Regions from separate parts of the Homo sapiens genome. Here region 2 is linked to region 1. Evidence: promoter capture Hi-C in human tissues and cell types (Jung and others, 2019). All regions are on one chromosome and are shown on one strand. The core of a region is centred on a gene start or on the middle of the fragment in contact, and the rest is flanking DNA. Distances in the headings are between cores, read along the strand shown.

Region 1 (7,207 bases), core at 3,130-5,629:
AGAGGTGTCTTCCTAGCCCAGGGTAGGTGGTGATTTTAACCCAGGCATTGAGATGCCAGAGCTGATGCCCTTCCCTATTCAAAATAAAAAGTCATGTTGATCCCAGCCTCCCACAGTGTTAGGCAAGCTATGAAAAGTGAGAGTCCCCAGGGCTAGTGCTTTAACAATTTTGGGTAGTGATTCCACTACTAAATTAAGTATCATAATGATTGCTAATAATGAATAATAATAAAGTAGGTACTTGAAAATCCACAGGGCTGAGTGTTACCTCAGTTCAGTTTTCTCACCTGAACTTTAGCCACCCATTGATTTCCAGCTCCCCTATGGATATTTCCATTTGACTACGCCATGACTGTTCCTAACTCTGTAAGAACCAAGCTTAGTTATTTCTTTCCCTCTTGACCATTTCTTATTGCAGCAGATCTGGTGCCTCAGTCTGCCTTCCATGGTCTTCTGTACTCTGGTTCCTCAATACCTGCTAAAGACTGAATCCCACCACCCTCCCAAATTCCCTAATCCCCAGTGTGATGGTATTTGGAAATGGGGCCTTTGGGAGGTAATTAGGTTTAGGTGAAGCCAGGGGGATGTGGTCCTCATGATGGGATTAGTGCCCTTCTTGAAGAAGAGACAAGAGAGCTTGCTTTCTCTCCACCATGTGAGAATACAGCAAGAAGCTGGCCATCTGCAAGCCAGTAAGAGAGCCTCAATCTCGAACTTCTAATCTCCCACTTGAGAAAACAAATTTCTGATGTTTAAGCCACACTCTCTGGTATTTGTTGTAACAGCCTGATATGGTTTGGTTCCGTGTCCCCACCCAAATCTCATTTTGAATTATAATTGACAGAGCAGGAGTATCGCCATCTTGGACAAGGACTGTCATTTAAAAATTCACCTTAATCAAAAACCACCTAAATCCAAAGGGCATCAGCCTAATGGCTAAGGTCAGCATGAACATAAACCACAAATAACATCTCTGACCAGAAACATTCCAAACTCCTCCCTGATCAGAAACATGCTAGCCCCAAGATAAGCCCCCTCTGGCCAGGAAGATGCTAGCCTCAGATAACTCCCCTCTGGCCAGGAAGATGTCAGGCCAAGATAATAGAAACATTCCAACCCCACCATAAACTTCTCCCCCCACCCCCAAAGAAACATCCAAGCTTGTGATAAACCTGCTCACCCTAAAACCAATTTATACTCTTAGTCGGGAAGAGAAAGTGCTCCTGACCAAAATCAGCCAGAAGCCCCCTCAGGTTTTTTCTCTAAAATAAACCTGTCTTTGACTGTTAAGCCTTGTTTCATATTTCTTTCCTCTTTCTTTAACTCTTAAAGTAATAATCCCCACATGTTGTGGGAGAGAGCTGGTGGCAGGTAATTTAATTATGGGGGGCAGGTTTTTCCCATGCTGTTCTCATGATAGTAAATAAGTCTCATGAGATCTGATGGTTTTATAAAGGGGAGTTCCCTTGCACAAGTTCTCTTGACTACCGCCATGTAAGACGTGCCTTTGCTTCTCCTTTGCCTTCTGCCACGATTGTGAGGCCTCCCCAGGCATGTGGAACTGTGAGTCCATTAAACCTCTTTCCTTTATAAATTACCCAGTCTCAGGTATGTCTGTATTAGCAGCATGAGAACAGACTAATACACAGCCCAAGCTAAGACACTATATATAGCACCTAAGCCACCTATTTAGCATTTAAACGTATTAACTTTCCATCCCTTTTCTGCAAATCTACATTACCTGTCCTCTTGCCTGTTTTTTCACTCATTATTTTCCTGAGCTAGGCTGGCACTCCCCTTCCCCACGTAACTTCACCCTTAAAAGAACAGAAATTAAAGTTTCTTTTTCCCTAGTCTTTTCCTATATTTTTCCTACTAACTTCATTCTTTAGACTCCTACAACACTTAACTTGTACCACACAATATAGCACTTACTTGTATAAATGCTATTCACTTTGCAATAAATCCCTGTACTTTATTATTATTTTGAGACAGGGTCTCACTCTGTTGTACTGGCTAGAGTGCAGTGGTGTGATCTCAGCTCACTGCATCCTCAACCTCCTGGGCTCAGGTGATCCACCTCAGCCTCCCTTGTAGCTGAGATTACAGGTGCACACCACCATGCCAGGTTAATTTTTTGTTTTTCAGTAGAGACGGGGTTTCACTATGTTGCCTAGGCTGGTCTCAAACTCCTGGACTCAAGCAGTCTGCCCGCCTTGGCCTCCCAGAATGCTGGGATTACAGGCATAAGCCACCACACCCAGCCCGTGCTTTCTTTTTTTTTTTTTTTTTTTTTTTTTGTGAGACGGAGTCTCGCTCTGTCACCCAGGCTGGAGTGCAGTGGTGCAATCTCGGTTCACTGCAAGTTCCACCTCCTGGGTTCATGCCATCCTCCTGCCTCAGCCTCCCTAGAGCTGGGACTACAGGCTCTAAATATTTTTAGTTTTAATATAGTTCAATTTATACATTTTTCCTTTATGATTAGTATTTTGTGTCCTGTTATAAACTTTTTGACTACTTCAAGGTTGCAAAGATGTTCTCTTATGTTTTCTTATTAACTTTTAAAATACAGACTGACAATCCAAATGAAATGTATTTTTGTTTATGATGTAAGGAGGGTCCAAATACAATTTTTTTTGCATGGAGAGACACAAATGACCTACCACTATTTTGTGAAAATATAATCTTTTCTCCATTGGTCCATGTTCTGGAAGACTTGTAAAAAATGAATTTTACATTTATGTCTATATATCTATTTACATAAATGGTTAAAAACTCTACACATAATTCTAATATTCTTCTATTTTCATGCAATACTGTTGACACATACAGCCTATTAATGGCTGCATATAATGCATATATGTGCATTATATAGATGTACTGTAATAATTTAATTAATTCTCTTAAAGTAGACATTTAGAGTATTTCCATTTGGCTATGTTATTGAGATGCTGAAATGAACATTTTGTCCAAAGTGAGTGCCAGCTGTTTAATTATCTCCTAAGGATAAACTGCGAGGAGGAGGAATTGCTGGGTTAAAATGCATGTCCTCTTTTTTTCCCGAGACGGAGTCTCGCACTGTCGCCCGGGCTGGTGTGCAGTGGTGAGATCTCGGCTCGCTCCAACCTCCGCCTCCCGGGTTCAAGCGATTCTCCTGCCTCAGCCTCCCAAGTAGCTAGGATTACAGGCGCCCGCCACCACGCCTGGCTAATTTTTTGCATTATTAGTAGAGACGGGGTTTCACTATGTTGGTCAGGCTGGTCTCGGACTCTTGACCTCGTGATCCGCTCGCCTCGGCCTCTCAAAATGCTGGGATTACAGGCGTGAGCCACTGCGCCCAGCCAAAGTGCATGTCTCTTTTCAACGTTTGCCTTCTGGGCTAGGCGGCTTGGCTCATGCCTGTAATCCCAGCACTTTGGGTGGCCGAGACCAACGGATCGCTTGAGTCCAGGAGTTCCAGACCAGCCTAAGATAGGGAGATGCCATCTCTCTAGGAGGATCGCGTGAGCCCGGGGAAGTTGAGGCTGCAGTGAGCCGAGATCGAGCCACTGCACACCAGCCTGGGTGAGGGTAAGACCTTGTTTCAGTAAACAAACAAATAAATAAGTTTGCCTTCCGTAAGGTTTCTAATAACGTTTTTCTTCCATCCACAGATGTAAACCTGTTTCCCCATAGTCACACCAACAGTGGTCATTACCAAGGTTTTACATCTTTGCTAAACCGAGTAAAAAGAAAACTTGCTGTTTTCATTTCCATTCTTGTCTAATAATAGTTTAAACAGTTTTGTATATCCTTAGTGGCTATTTGTTTGACTTTTTTGTTTTTTGGGAGGCCTGTTCTAATATTTGCTCATTTTCCTTCTGGGGTTGTTGGCCTTTTTCTTATTGGCTTATTAAGCAACATAATTAATATATATTATGTCATGTATATATAAACAATCTTATCTTGCAGTTCCCTAGTTTGGCTTTTAACCTATCGTCTTTTGAGCTGCAGTTTCAACCCAGTCTGTACAGGAAGTAACAACTGTCCAGAAGAGTCTGAAAGCCCTTGGGGCCAGCAGCCAGTGAGCGGAACCAGCACGTCCTGACAGACAGGTTTGCCCCGTCCCTTCCCTCCCTCCCCCTCCCCCTCCCCTTCGCCTCCCTGTCCCTCTCCCTTTCACCCCTCTTCGGGACGGAGCCAAAGAATGCTCCGCCTGCGCGCGCCGCTTCCGTTGCCATAGTGGCCGGGGGCGGGAGGCTGGCGCCTCCCAGCTTCTGTACTCCGCGAAGCAAAACCTAGGGAGCTGAGGCCTAGGCGAGGCGAGAGTCGCCGGCGTGCGTAACGTTGGCGCACGTGACTCCGGCCCGGCCTACAGGGCGCGTGCGCAGTGGGACTTGAGTGCCTCCTGGTCCCTGTCTGCCGGCATTCGCGGCTGCGGGGCCCGGAGGTGGGACTGGCTTCCCGGTGCCGCGAGGGCGGGTCCGGACAGCCTTCCCCCCAGTCCGGCGCACCATCTCCCTGCCTTGTGGCTGGAGGCGCCGCGGACCCAAAGGGAGGGACCATCCCGGGAAGCAGCCCCGAGAGCGGAAGTGCAGAATGGCTTCCTCGAGAGAGTAAAGTGCAGCCTCTCCAGACACTGGGGCCCCAGTGGGCGTGGGCGAAGGTAATCCAGGCCTGGGTACGATTCCGGGCCCTCCTTCGACTTCCCAGCGGGTGAGCCAGGGGCTGGGACTGAGTTTCCTCCAGGTCAGGGACCGGGCCTCTGGAGTGGGGTTTGGGACTTACTTCACTAGATGAAATGAGATATGGGGTGCCCGGCCCAAAGTCAGCCCTGGATACTCACTGGCCGTTGTTTTCACAGTTGCTGGTAGGAGGAGTTGGCGGAAGCACTTGGAACTCCTTTATAAGTGTCAGCTGTGAGGTAAAAACTGTTGATGAGATCTTGTGGGTTTTGTTTTGGGTTCACTAATTTGGGCGGGGGCTACATAACTGCCTACTTGAGTTTGCAATATGAGAATGGTAATAGCGACCCACTTAGCAGAATTATGATGTCACAAAGCTCAAAGGACTGTTTAATGAAAGGCTCAGAGGATCATATACTGGAAAATTTTTCCACACACGCTGTAAGCCACATGCTTTTTTTTTTTTTTTTAAGTCATGCATTTAAGTGCTGGAGTGAAGTTGAGGTGCACTATTAATGACTCATATTCAGAACCTGAAGAGAGAGATCCCTTTTGTGCTAAGTATGATATCCACTCATTTATTCAGTAATACTGAGTGCTTACTGTGTACCAGGCAATGTCCAACTTCTTGGAATGGTCTATGTGTAAACAAAACAAAGATCTCTGTCCTGTGGAGCTTACATTCTAGTTTGGGGAAGACAAATAATAAACAGTAAACAAAAAGAAGGAAGTTATAGGTTGGAAGTACATGAGTACCATAGGAAAAAAATACAGCGAGGTAAGAGGCATGGGGAATGCAAGATGCAATCTTAGGTAGGCTTCACTGAGAAAATGACATTTGAGCAAATATTGGAAGGAGGTGAAGGAGTTAGCTGTGCTGACAGCTGGGGAAAGAGCATTCCAGGCAGAGGGACCACCAATGCAGAAAGACTTTTGTCTTGGAATGTGCTTGGTGTCTTCAGTGAACAGCAGAAAGGCCTGTTTGGCTGGAGTAGTGAGTAAGGGAGTAGTAATAAAAATTAGGTGGCAACACAGCAAAAGTATAGTCAGAACGGTGGAGTGTCTGAATCACTTAAGTTGTCCTCATGTGAAGGTAATTTCCTATTAGCTTAGGTAAGGTTTCACAGCTTAACTACAGCCGTTAATTAGTATGTGAAGTTAATGATTAAAATTAGACTTTTTCCGAAATAGAGTATAGATGAGATCTAAACATGGCTGTAGTTTCCAGCAAGCACAATGCGAATTAAGACAGAGGAGCTTGTTGAAAAAAACTTTTATATGCCCTTATTTTAAGATTTTAGTGAATGTGGAAACACCTCAGTTTTGTCTTCCTTTAGAAATTTGTCTAAATATAGCTCTACCAGTAAAAAAGAAACAAACAAAAAACAGGCATAGTGGCTGACACCTGTAATCCCAGCACCTTGGAAGGCCGAGTTGGAGGGATTGCTTGAGCCCAGGATTTTGAGACCAGCCTGGGCAACAGAGCAAGACCCCATCTCCACAATTTTTTTTTTAACTAACTGGGTGTGGTGGTGCACGTCTGTAGTCCCAACTCCTTTGGAGGCTGAGGTGGGAGGATCCTTTGAGCCTGGGAAGAGGTCAAGGCTGCAGGGAGCTATGACCTGTGCCACTGCACTCCAGCCTGGGTAGCAGAGTGAGACCCTGTCTCAAAAAAAAACTTTTTTTTAATATAAATATACCGTGGCAAACAAATGACTAAGAAGACACCTGTTACTTCAAGGAAATTACAAACTGGTAGAGTAGACTTGCAAATAATTTAAACAAAATAAGAAAGAATGAAAAAAGTGTGCTAAAAGAACAGTACAAAGTAAATGCTAAAAGAAACATCATCTGAATATTATTGTATGTATTACAGCAGTAGTTCCCTTTGTTTCTCATTTTGTCCTTGAACATCTGCTTTTCTGGAGTGATGATTTGATTGCCAATTTTTTCATATTTAACAAATTCAGATTTTTTTGAAAATCATTTGTAGAATGCATTGTGTATGCTAAATAAGTGCAGAATTTGTGAACTAAAGCATCTATTGATTAACATTGCACTAACAGGTACCATGTAATATTCATTGCTCTCCCTGCTGGAATTTGTAACTTTTCCAAAACTATGCCATTAAGCCATACTTCTCATATCCTTTTTCCTCTTCAGAAGGAAGAGGTTTCTTTGTTTCTGGTTTCTTTGGCAGTGTTGACTGCCAGAGTATGTAGAGTGACTATTTGTAATTTGTATATTCAATATGTATATTTCTTCAGTATAAAATTCTGCTATCCAAGTGTTAAGTTTTAGTGGCTAGAAGAAATAATGATATGTTATGGTGGAAGTGTGGAGCTGTCTGAACCATATGAAAGCCAGGAATCTATAGTTTGAGACATACCGGGTAAACAGTTGGTCACTTTCAGCATCAAGCAGAAAAAGGCTAACCACTCAAGTACAGCACAGTTTACAAGCAGTATGATGATGAACGTTAGTTGATGACCTGTATAGGTGATTGGTACCACCAAAGTGCCTGTCTTAGAGAATGAAATCTG
Region 2 (7,207 bases), core at 1,758-4,257, 420 kb after region 1:
TATTAACTCTCCCTTTAACTGTATTGAATCTACTGTTAAAGTTTCCATTAAGTCCTTAAGTTATTATATTTTTCAGTCTTAGAATTTCTATTAGGCTGTTTTAAAAATCTGAATAATTCATGTTTACTGTTTCTAGTTTCTAGCTGAAATTGTCAGACATGACTTTTATTTCTTGAACACAGTAATCATAGGCATTTTACAGTCTATACCAGATAATTCCAAAATCCACAGTCATTGTGGCTCTTTCTGGTATTTCTACTCATCTTTTTCTACTATTTCTACTCATCTTTGCCCATGTTGCCCTGCCTCCTCATGTGCCTGGTTATCTTCTGTTCATGTGTTGGGTATTATATTGTAAAAGTTATTTAGAAATCATTAAACTAAGGATCATATTTTTCTTCAGAGGCAATTTTCATTTGCTTCTGCCCAACACTTGGGGGCACTAGAAATTCAGGATCACTTTAAGCCAGTGTTAGGGTTTGAGATTTTCTGGATTACCCAGATGACTCAGAGCAGGATTGCCACCCTTGGGAAAGCTGGTTTATATCCAGCTCACCTTTCATCTTTTGAGGTCCCAGCCCAGAAGAAAGCATTGTCACCTTCCACAGGCCTTGAACTTTTGCCCTCTTAGCACCAAAAGACCATAAAAAGTACAGACAACGCCTGTAATCCCAGCAACTTGAGAGGCTGAGGTGGGCAGATCAGGATTTTGAGACCAGCCTGGACAACCTGGTAAAATCCCATCTTTACTAAAAACATACAAAAATTAGCTGGGCATGGTGACTCGCGCCTGTAATCCTAGCTACTCTGGAGGCTGAGGCAGGAGAATCGCCAGAACCCGGGAGACAAAGGTTGCAGTGAGCCAAGATTTCACCACTGCGCTCCGGCCTGGGTGACAGAGTGAGATTCCGTATCAAAATTAAAAAAAAAAAAAATGTGCAGACAAGCCTCCTGTCTACCTTTTCCTGACTGGCAAATGCTCTGGGCGGACAAAAACTGCCCAGAAAGTGAGACTGACCTTGCTGGATTTCTATACTCTCACAGATCCTGGTCTATTTACTCCTCATTCTCTTCGTAGCTCTGTTATGCTTTAAAAAAAATTTTTTTATATATATTTAGTCTAGCAATTGTTGTTGCCTTGAGCTCAGGTTACCTAGTTTACCATTACCCTGCATCGTTTCCATTATTGTGGCTTTATAATATGTTTTAGCATCTAGTTCAGTGAATTCCTATCCACCCATTCCCTGTTTTTGCCATTTTTCTTAACAATTTTCACCTATTAATCTCTCAAATAAGCTTTATAATTATTTTATAACGTTCCTTTAAAAATCCCATCGGGAAGCCTCTGAATCTGGTAGGATTTCTGCTTGCGGAGTATTTAGACTCTCCACCAGGAACATTTAGGATTTCCACCCATTTATTTAGATCTTTTATGTCAATATTCTTACATATAATTCTTCCATATAGTTTCTTATTAAAGTTGTTTCTAAATACATAATTTTTTATCTCAGAAGCTTCCCGTGTGATATCACTATTTCTGCCTTCTCCATGCCTCATATTTTGTATTATTCAATCTTTTTCATGATGGTGCCAGCATTACTGTCTTCTAACAATGCCTGCTGATGTCTCATATCCGAAATCAGATGTATGGCTTTAGTCTTATCTTCCTTATAATGGGCCAGAAACCACCACTTTCTCCAAGTAGGTCAAATGCCCACCTTGTTTTTTCTCTTATCGTGGTAGGATGCTCAACATGACACTATCAGGCAACTAAACTAATGCATAGCACCTAGGAGATACTGGTTTTTAGGAATTGACATCAATGCAGGCCCTTATAGAATTACAAGTATTCATTTGCATTTTATTGGCCTAGCGTATATTTTATAACTGCCTCTGTTAATGACAGAGGTGTTGGCAACCACATTTTGACACTACCTACGTGATCTGGAAAGTTCTGCATACTCCTTGGACCTCCAGTTCCTCACTCAGATAACAAGGGCTGATCTGACTGAATGTTCTTCTGTCCTCTCCAGGTCTAATATTTATTATTTATCTCTCTTAAGAAATTCAAAAAAGTGAATACTAGGCATAATACCTTTTTGGGGTCCTGCCCCAAACACAGCACAGTATCTCACCCCAGACTCAAAGCCCATGAGCAGCCTGTAAGCCTAGCACTCATCCCTGCTTTCCTTCTGCCAGCTGCATGTTGACCTGCAGGATGAGCTAGGAGTCTTCTCCCTGAAAGGGAGGCCCACCACCGCGTATATCTACATCACAGAGGAAAATAAACCACATGTAAAAGGTAAGTGTGGGGAGGGTGCTTCTAGAGGGCAATGGATCTCAGTAGCTGCTTCATTAGGGGACCACTCAAGGCCCAGCCAGAGGGGAATGCCCAGTCTCGTCACCACTGGCCTCTAGCTAAGGCTCGTTCCCATTCTAGGGTTACTTTCCCTTCAACAGGGGTCTTTATAGATACACATTTCTTGAAACTAGTTCTAAATCATATCTTCTCTCTTCTCTTTGCAGCAAAGAAAGCTCACACAGCCTCCTTGGTTGTTTCTCCTGGAGATACAGCTGAATTTGATGTCGTTTTCCACTCCCAGAAGGTTGGGAGGATGAGAGGTATCATCCACTTGTCAGTGATCAACAACCAATATGAGGAGACCTCCATCCACATGGTGGGAGAGGGCTATGAGGATGACATCACCTTGGACAACATCCATGGACTGGTGGCCCCCACCAGCCAGGAAGACATAAGTATCTCTGAGTTCACAGAGATCATCGAGGACAATGATATGGAAGACTTGGTGGCAGGTGGGAGAAACAGCAGTGAAGTGTTGGCAAGTGTTGGCTACTGGGTCATTTGTTTTAAATGAGAGTAAATTTAAATAACAGGTTGGTTACCTCCCTGAGAATTTAGGACTGACTCTCCTCTTCATTACTCTATGCTCTGGCATGCCTGGCTCAGTCATGGCATCCATCCTTCCATTTATTCATGTGTTCACTCGATGAATATGTATTGATCACCAAGTACATGTTCCAGGCATGCTGATCCCTGGAGTTTCAAAATTAACAAGGAAGTCTCTACTCTTAAGGAGCTTATAGTTTGATATTCAAATTCTGGTTCAACTAATAAGCAAATAAATGCCTTGCAGTTTTTCCTGTCTGCATTTATTAGCTGGCTTGTGTTGGCATTGTCTGTTTATTAGAGAGAGTATAGGTTTGGGCACTTCTAGAACATCACTCTGCACAGCCCCACTACTCAATGAGCAGTTTGAGATCCTATGGCATCAGCATCACCTGGGAGCTTGTTAGAAATGGGGGTTTCAGACCCCCCTGCCCTACTGAATCAGAATCCACATTTTAACAAGGCCCCAGGTGACGTGTTTTTATACTAAAGCTTAAGACATGTTGTGCTGCAATCTATCAAGCACTAAAGCTTCATTTAGTTGACATTTTTGGGGATTGGAAAAATTTATCATCAAATTGTTATCATCAGAAGGCATTGGTTAAGCGCCCTAATTATGTGGTTGGTTGCTAAAAAGTGAGTTATAAACAGAGTCCCATAGTTTACCTAGAAGCTTAATTAAAGTCCTGGAATGTACCGTTAGGTGGTCTACACAACATGGGTTGAAATCAACACTCCTCATATACCTGGTGTTTCAGCCCTGTTTGAGGCTACAGGGTGACATCTCTCTTACCAAGGCTCAAGCAGGAGCCAGCAGTGAATCTAAGTTCAGAACTCAGATTTCATGCCCATAATAGGATTGCCAGAGTTAGCAAATCAGAATACAAGACTCCTCAATAAATTGGAATTTTGGTTAAACTATGAATAATTTTTAGTATATGTATATCCCAAACATGGCATGGGACATACTTATCCTAAAAATTATTCATTTCTTATCTGTAATTCAAATTTAACCAGGACTCCTATATTTTATCTGGCAATCCCAATCCTTTATAATATTTTCTCACCAAACAAATGGAGTTGGGGACCTATGTTTTCTCTTGTACAAATGGAGGTGAGGGCTAAGGTGGGTGAATGGATGATGGATGGATGGATGAAGGGATAGAGGGATGGATGGGTAGATGATAGATGAATGGGTGGATGGATACATGCATGCATGCATGGATGAGTAGATGATGGATGGATGGGTGGATGATGATGGGTAGATAGGTGAGTGGGTAGGTGGATGATGGGTGAGTGGGTAGGTAGATGATAGATGAATTAATGGATGGATGGGTGGATGATGGATGGATGGATGGGTGGGTGGATGATGGATGGATATATGGATGGATGGCTGCATGGATGGATGGATGATGGATGGGTGGATGATGGATGGATGAGTGGGTGAGCAGGTGGATGATGGATGGATGGGAGGGTGGATAATGGATGGATGGATGGATGGATGGGTGGGTAGGGAGATGATGGATGGGTGGATAGGTGGATGGTGGATGGGTGGATGATGGATGGATGCGAGGGTGGATGGATGATGGGTGGGTGGGTGGATGATGGCTGGATGGGTGGGTGGATGGATGATGATGGCAGGATGGGGGAGGGTGGATGGTGGATGGATGAATGGATGATGGATGGATGGATGGATAGGTGAGTGATGGATAGGTGGATGATGGATGGGTGGATAATGGATGGATGAGAGGGATGGATGGATAGATGATGGATGGGTAGATGATGGGTGGGTGGATGATGGATGGATGGATGGATGGATGGATGGATGGATGGATGGATAGATGGATGGATGGGTGGATAGATAGATTCCTTGAGGATAGAAATCTTGTTACTCAGAGATTCTAGGTTTCTCAAATATAGCCATCCAAGGATGGAAGGACTGCATGTGAGTGAAGCACTATGCCTCCTTAAGGCAGCAGGCCCTCAGGGGAGGCCAGGGAGGACTCACAGCCTTCTGCTTCTAATCCCTAGCTGCTCTGGTGGACCACATCCAATTTGGGGACTGCCACATTGGACACAGCTATAATGCGAGCTTCACAGTCACAAATCACAGCCAAGTGAACTTGATACGGTTTGAATGGCCTGTTTCAGCTACAATTGCTTTCTCCCCACAGGTAAATAAAAGTCATTCATCATTTTTTGGAATCCCTTAGTCCTAAGCCAACCCCAGACTGATTGTCAGCCCTTTCCCGTGGATGCATGGAATGGAATTAATGCATCTCAAGCTGAGAGACAGCCCAGGAATCATCCCTCACTCATACCTAGTAGCAAAGAACACTGTTCATGTCTCTCCTGGTTAAGAGGGGAAGACGGAGAATGAAGTTGACCAAAACTGTTGCTAGGCTGCTGTCAACGGGCCCTGTGGAGGCCTGTATAGATGAATACAGGTCCTAGTCTTCCTATCCCAGATTGTAGAGCTGTGTCCTCCTAGGTGTGTGTCCTTTAGAGTATCAGTCCTTCAAAATGCTTCACCAAAAGCTAGAATGGGGGTGATGGGTTCTGTGGACAAGTGAGATTTAGAAAATGTTCCAAGCTCCATCCTTCCTTAAATATTCCTGGTTCTCTTTGGCATGTTAAAACCTTGTTAACTTTGTTTTACCTGGAATTTTCTAACCTCTTCTTTTAGCATCTCCACAACACACATTTTTTTTTTGAATTGCTGACTAAAGCTTGACATTGAACAAGGCCTAGGATAACGTTCTAGAAGATCGTTGCCTCTGGCCAGTGGTTGCTTTTTGTAGATAGTTCATTTCTGAGTTCCCAGAGCACTGGCACACCCCAGTGTCTTCACTGCCTCCTGCTCTGTTGACACACAGCCAGTGAGTCTGCTCAAGCACAGTACTCGAGGGGGATGGAGCAAAGGCGTTGGGGACTTTGTCATCTTTAAATCTTTGAGCGCTATTAGGGATAAATTTTGCTTTTTGGAGTGATGTAAAGTTCATTAGGACCCTGACCATTCCGTTTCGTCATGGTCCAAATCCAACCCTGAATAGAGCTGGTATACCACTTTATTTGTAAATTGAGTGCTTACTATATGCCAAAAATAGTTCTAAGACCATGGTTAATCCTCTGAACAATGCTATAAGGCAGATACTACTTTTTTTTGTTTTTGTTTGTTTGTTGAGATAGTCTCACTCGGTCACCCAGGCTGGAGTGCAGTGTTACAATCTTGGCTCATTGCAACCTCCACTTCCCAAGATCAAGTGATTCTCCCACCTCAGCCCCCCAAGTAGCTGGGACAACAGATGCACACCACCACACCTGGCTAATTTTTTTGTATTTTTGGCAGAGACAGGTTTCACCGTGTTGTCCAGTCTGGTCTCAAACTCCTGAGCTCAAGCAATCCACCTGCCTCGGCCTCCCAAAATGCTGGGATTATAGGCATGAGCCACTGTGCCCAGCCATAGATACTACTATTATCTGCATTTTGCCTGTGAAGAAACAAACACAGTATAATATAATAGGGTAATCTGCTTTTGTGCATTATTTTTATTACCAAAGCCTTAATCAAAGGAGGCAGAGAGGCTGGGCACAGTGGAGGTTCCCAACCTCAATTCTTGACTTCTGTGCACCCACAGGCTCAACACCACATGGAAGCTGCCAAGTCTTGGGGCTTGCACCCTCTGCAGCCATGTCCTGAGCCACACCTTGGCCCCTTTTAGCCATGACCAGAGTGGCTGGGATGCAGAGCTCTACATCCTTAGGCTGCACACAGCAGGGGGGTCCCTGGGCCACCCACAAAACCATTTTTTCCTCCCAGGCCTCTGGGTCTGTGATGGGAGGGGCTGCCACAAAGGTCTCTGACATGCCCTAGAGACATTTTCCCCATTGTTTTGGCCATTAACATTTGGCTCCTCACTACTTTTGCAAACTTCTGAAGCCCTCTTGAATTTCTCCTCAGAAAATGGGTTTTTCTTTTCTATCATCAGGCTGAAAGTTTTCTGAACTTTTATGCTCTGTTTCCCTTTTAAAACTGAATGCTTTTAAGAGCACCCAAGTAACCTCTTGAACGTCTTGCTGCTTAGAAATTTTTTATGCCAGATAACCTAAATCATCTCCCTCAAGTTCAAAGTTCCACAAATCTCTAGGGCAAGGCCAAATGCCACCAGTCTCTTTGCTAAAACATAGCAAGAGTCACCTTTGCTCCAGTTCCCAACAAGTTTCTCATCTCCAGGAATCATCTCAGCCTGGATTTCATTGTCCATATCATCAGCATTTTGGTCAAAGCCATTCAACAAG

What was found. Contacts are between HindIII fragments. The study calls those that stand out against the background at their distance.
Region 2: a contact is called between a fragment that was not itself captured here and the fragment with the promoter of CMTR2 in region 1, in 2 of the 25 tissues and cell types used here (mesenchymal stem cells and thymus).

What each region holds. Positions count from the first base shown.
Region 1 is chr16:71,286,574-71,293,780 of GRCh38, reverse strand. CMTR2 (cap methyltransferase 2) reads left to right here and starts at 4,379. Exons shown (of 3, transcript NM_018348.6): 1 at 4,379-4,645; 2 at 4,844-4,903. It overlaps LOC102723786 (a long non-coding RNA gene), which reads right to left and starts at 4,981. Exons shown (of 4, transcript XR_933707.3): 1 at 4,826-4,981. RefSeq lists silencers at 4,107-4,176, 4,257-4,626. The HindIII fragment of the contact is 7,661 bases long and covers 770-7,207 here.
Region 2 is chr16:70,869,912-70,877,118 of GRCh38, reverse strand. HYDIN (HYDIN axonemal central pair apparatus protein) reads left to right here. Exons shown (of 86, transcript NM_001270974.2): 63 at 2,200-2,302; 64 at 2,527-2,814; 65 at 4,940-5,082. Among named protein-coding and RNA genes, the nearest start is that of VAC14, 72 kb to the right of the region's middle. The HindIII fragment of the contact is 3,204 bases long and covers 1,406-4,609 here.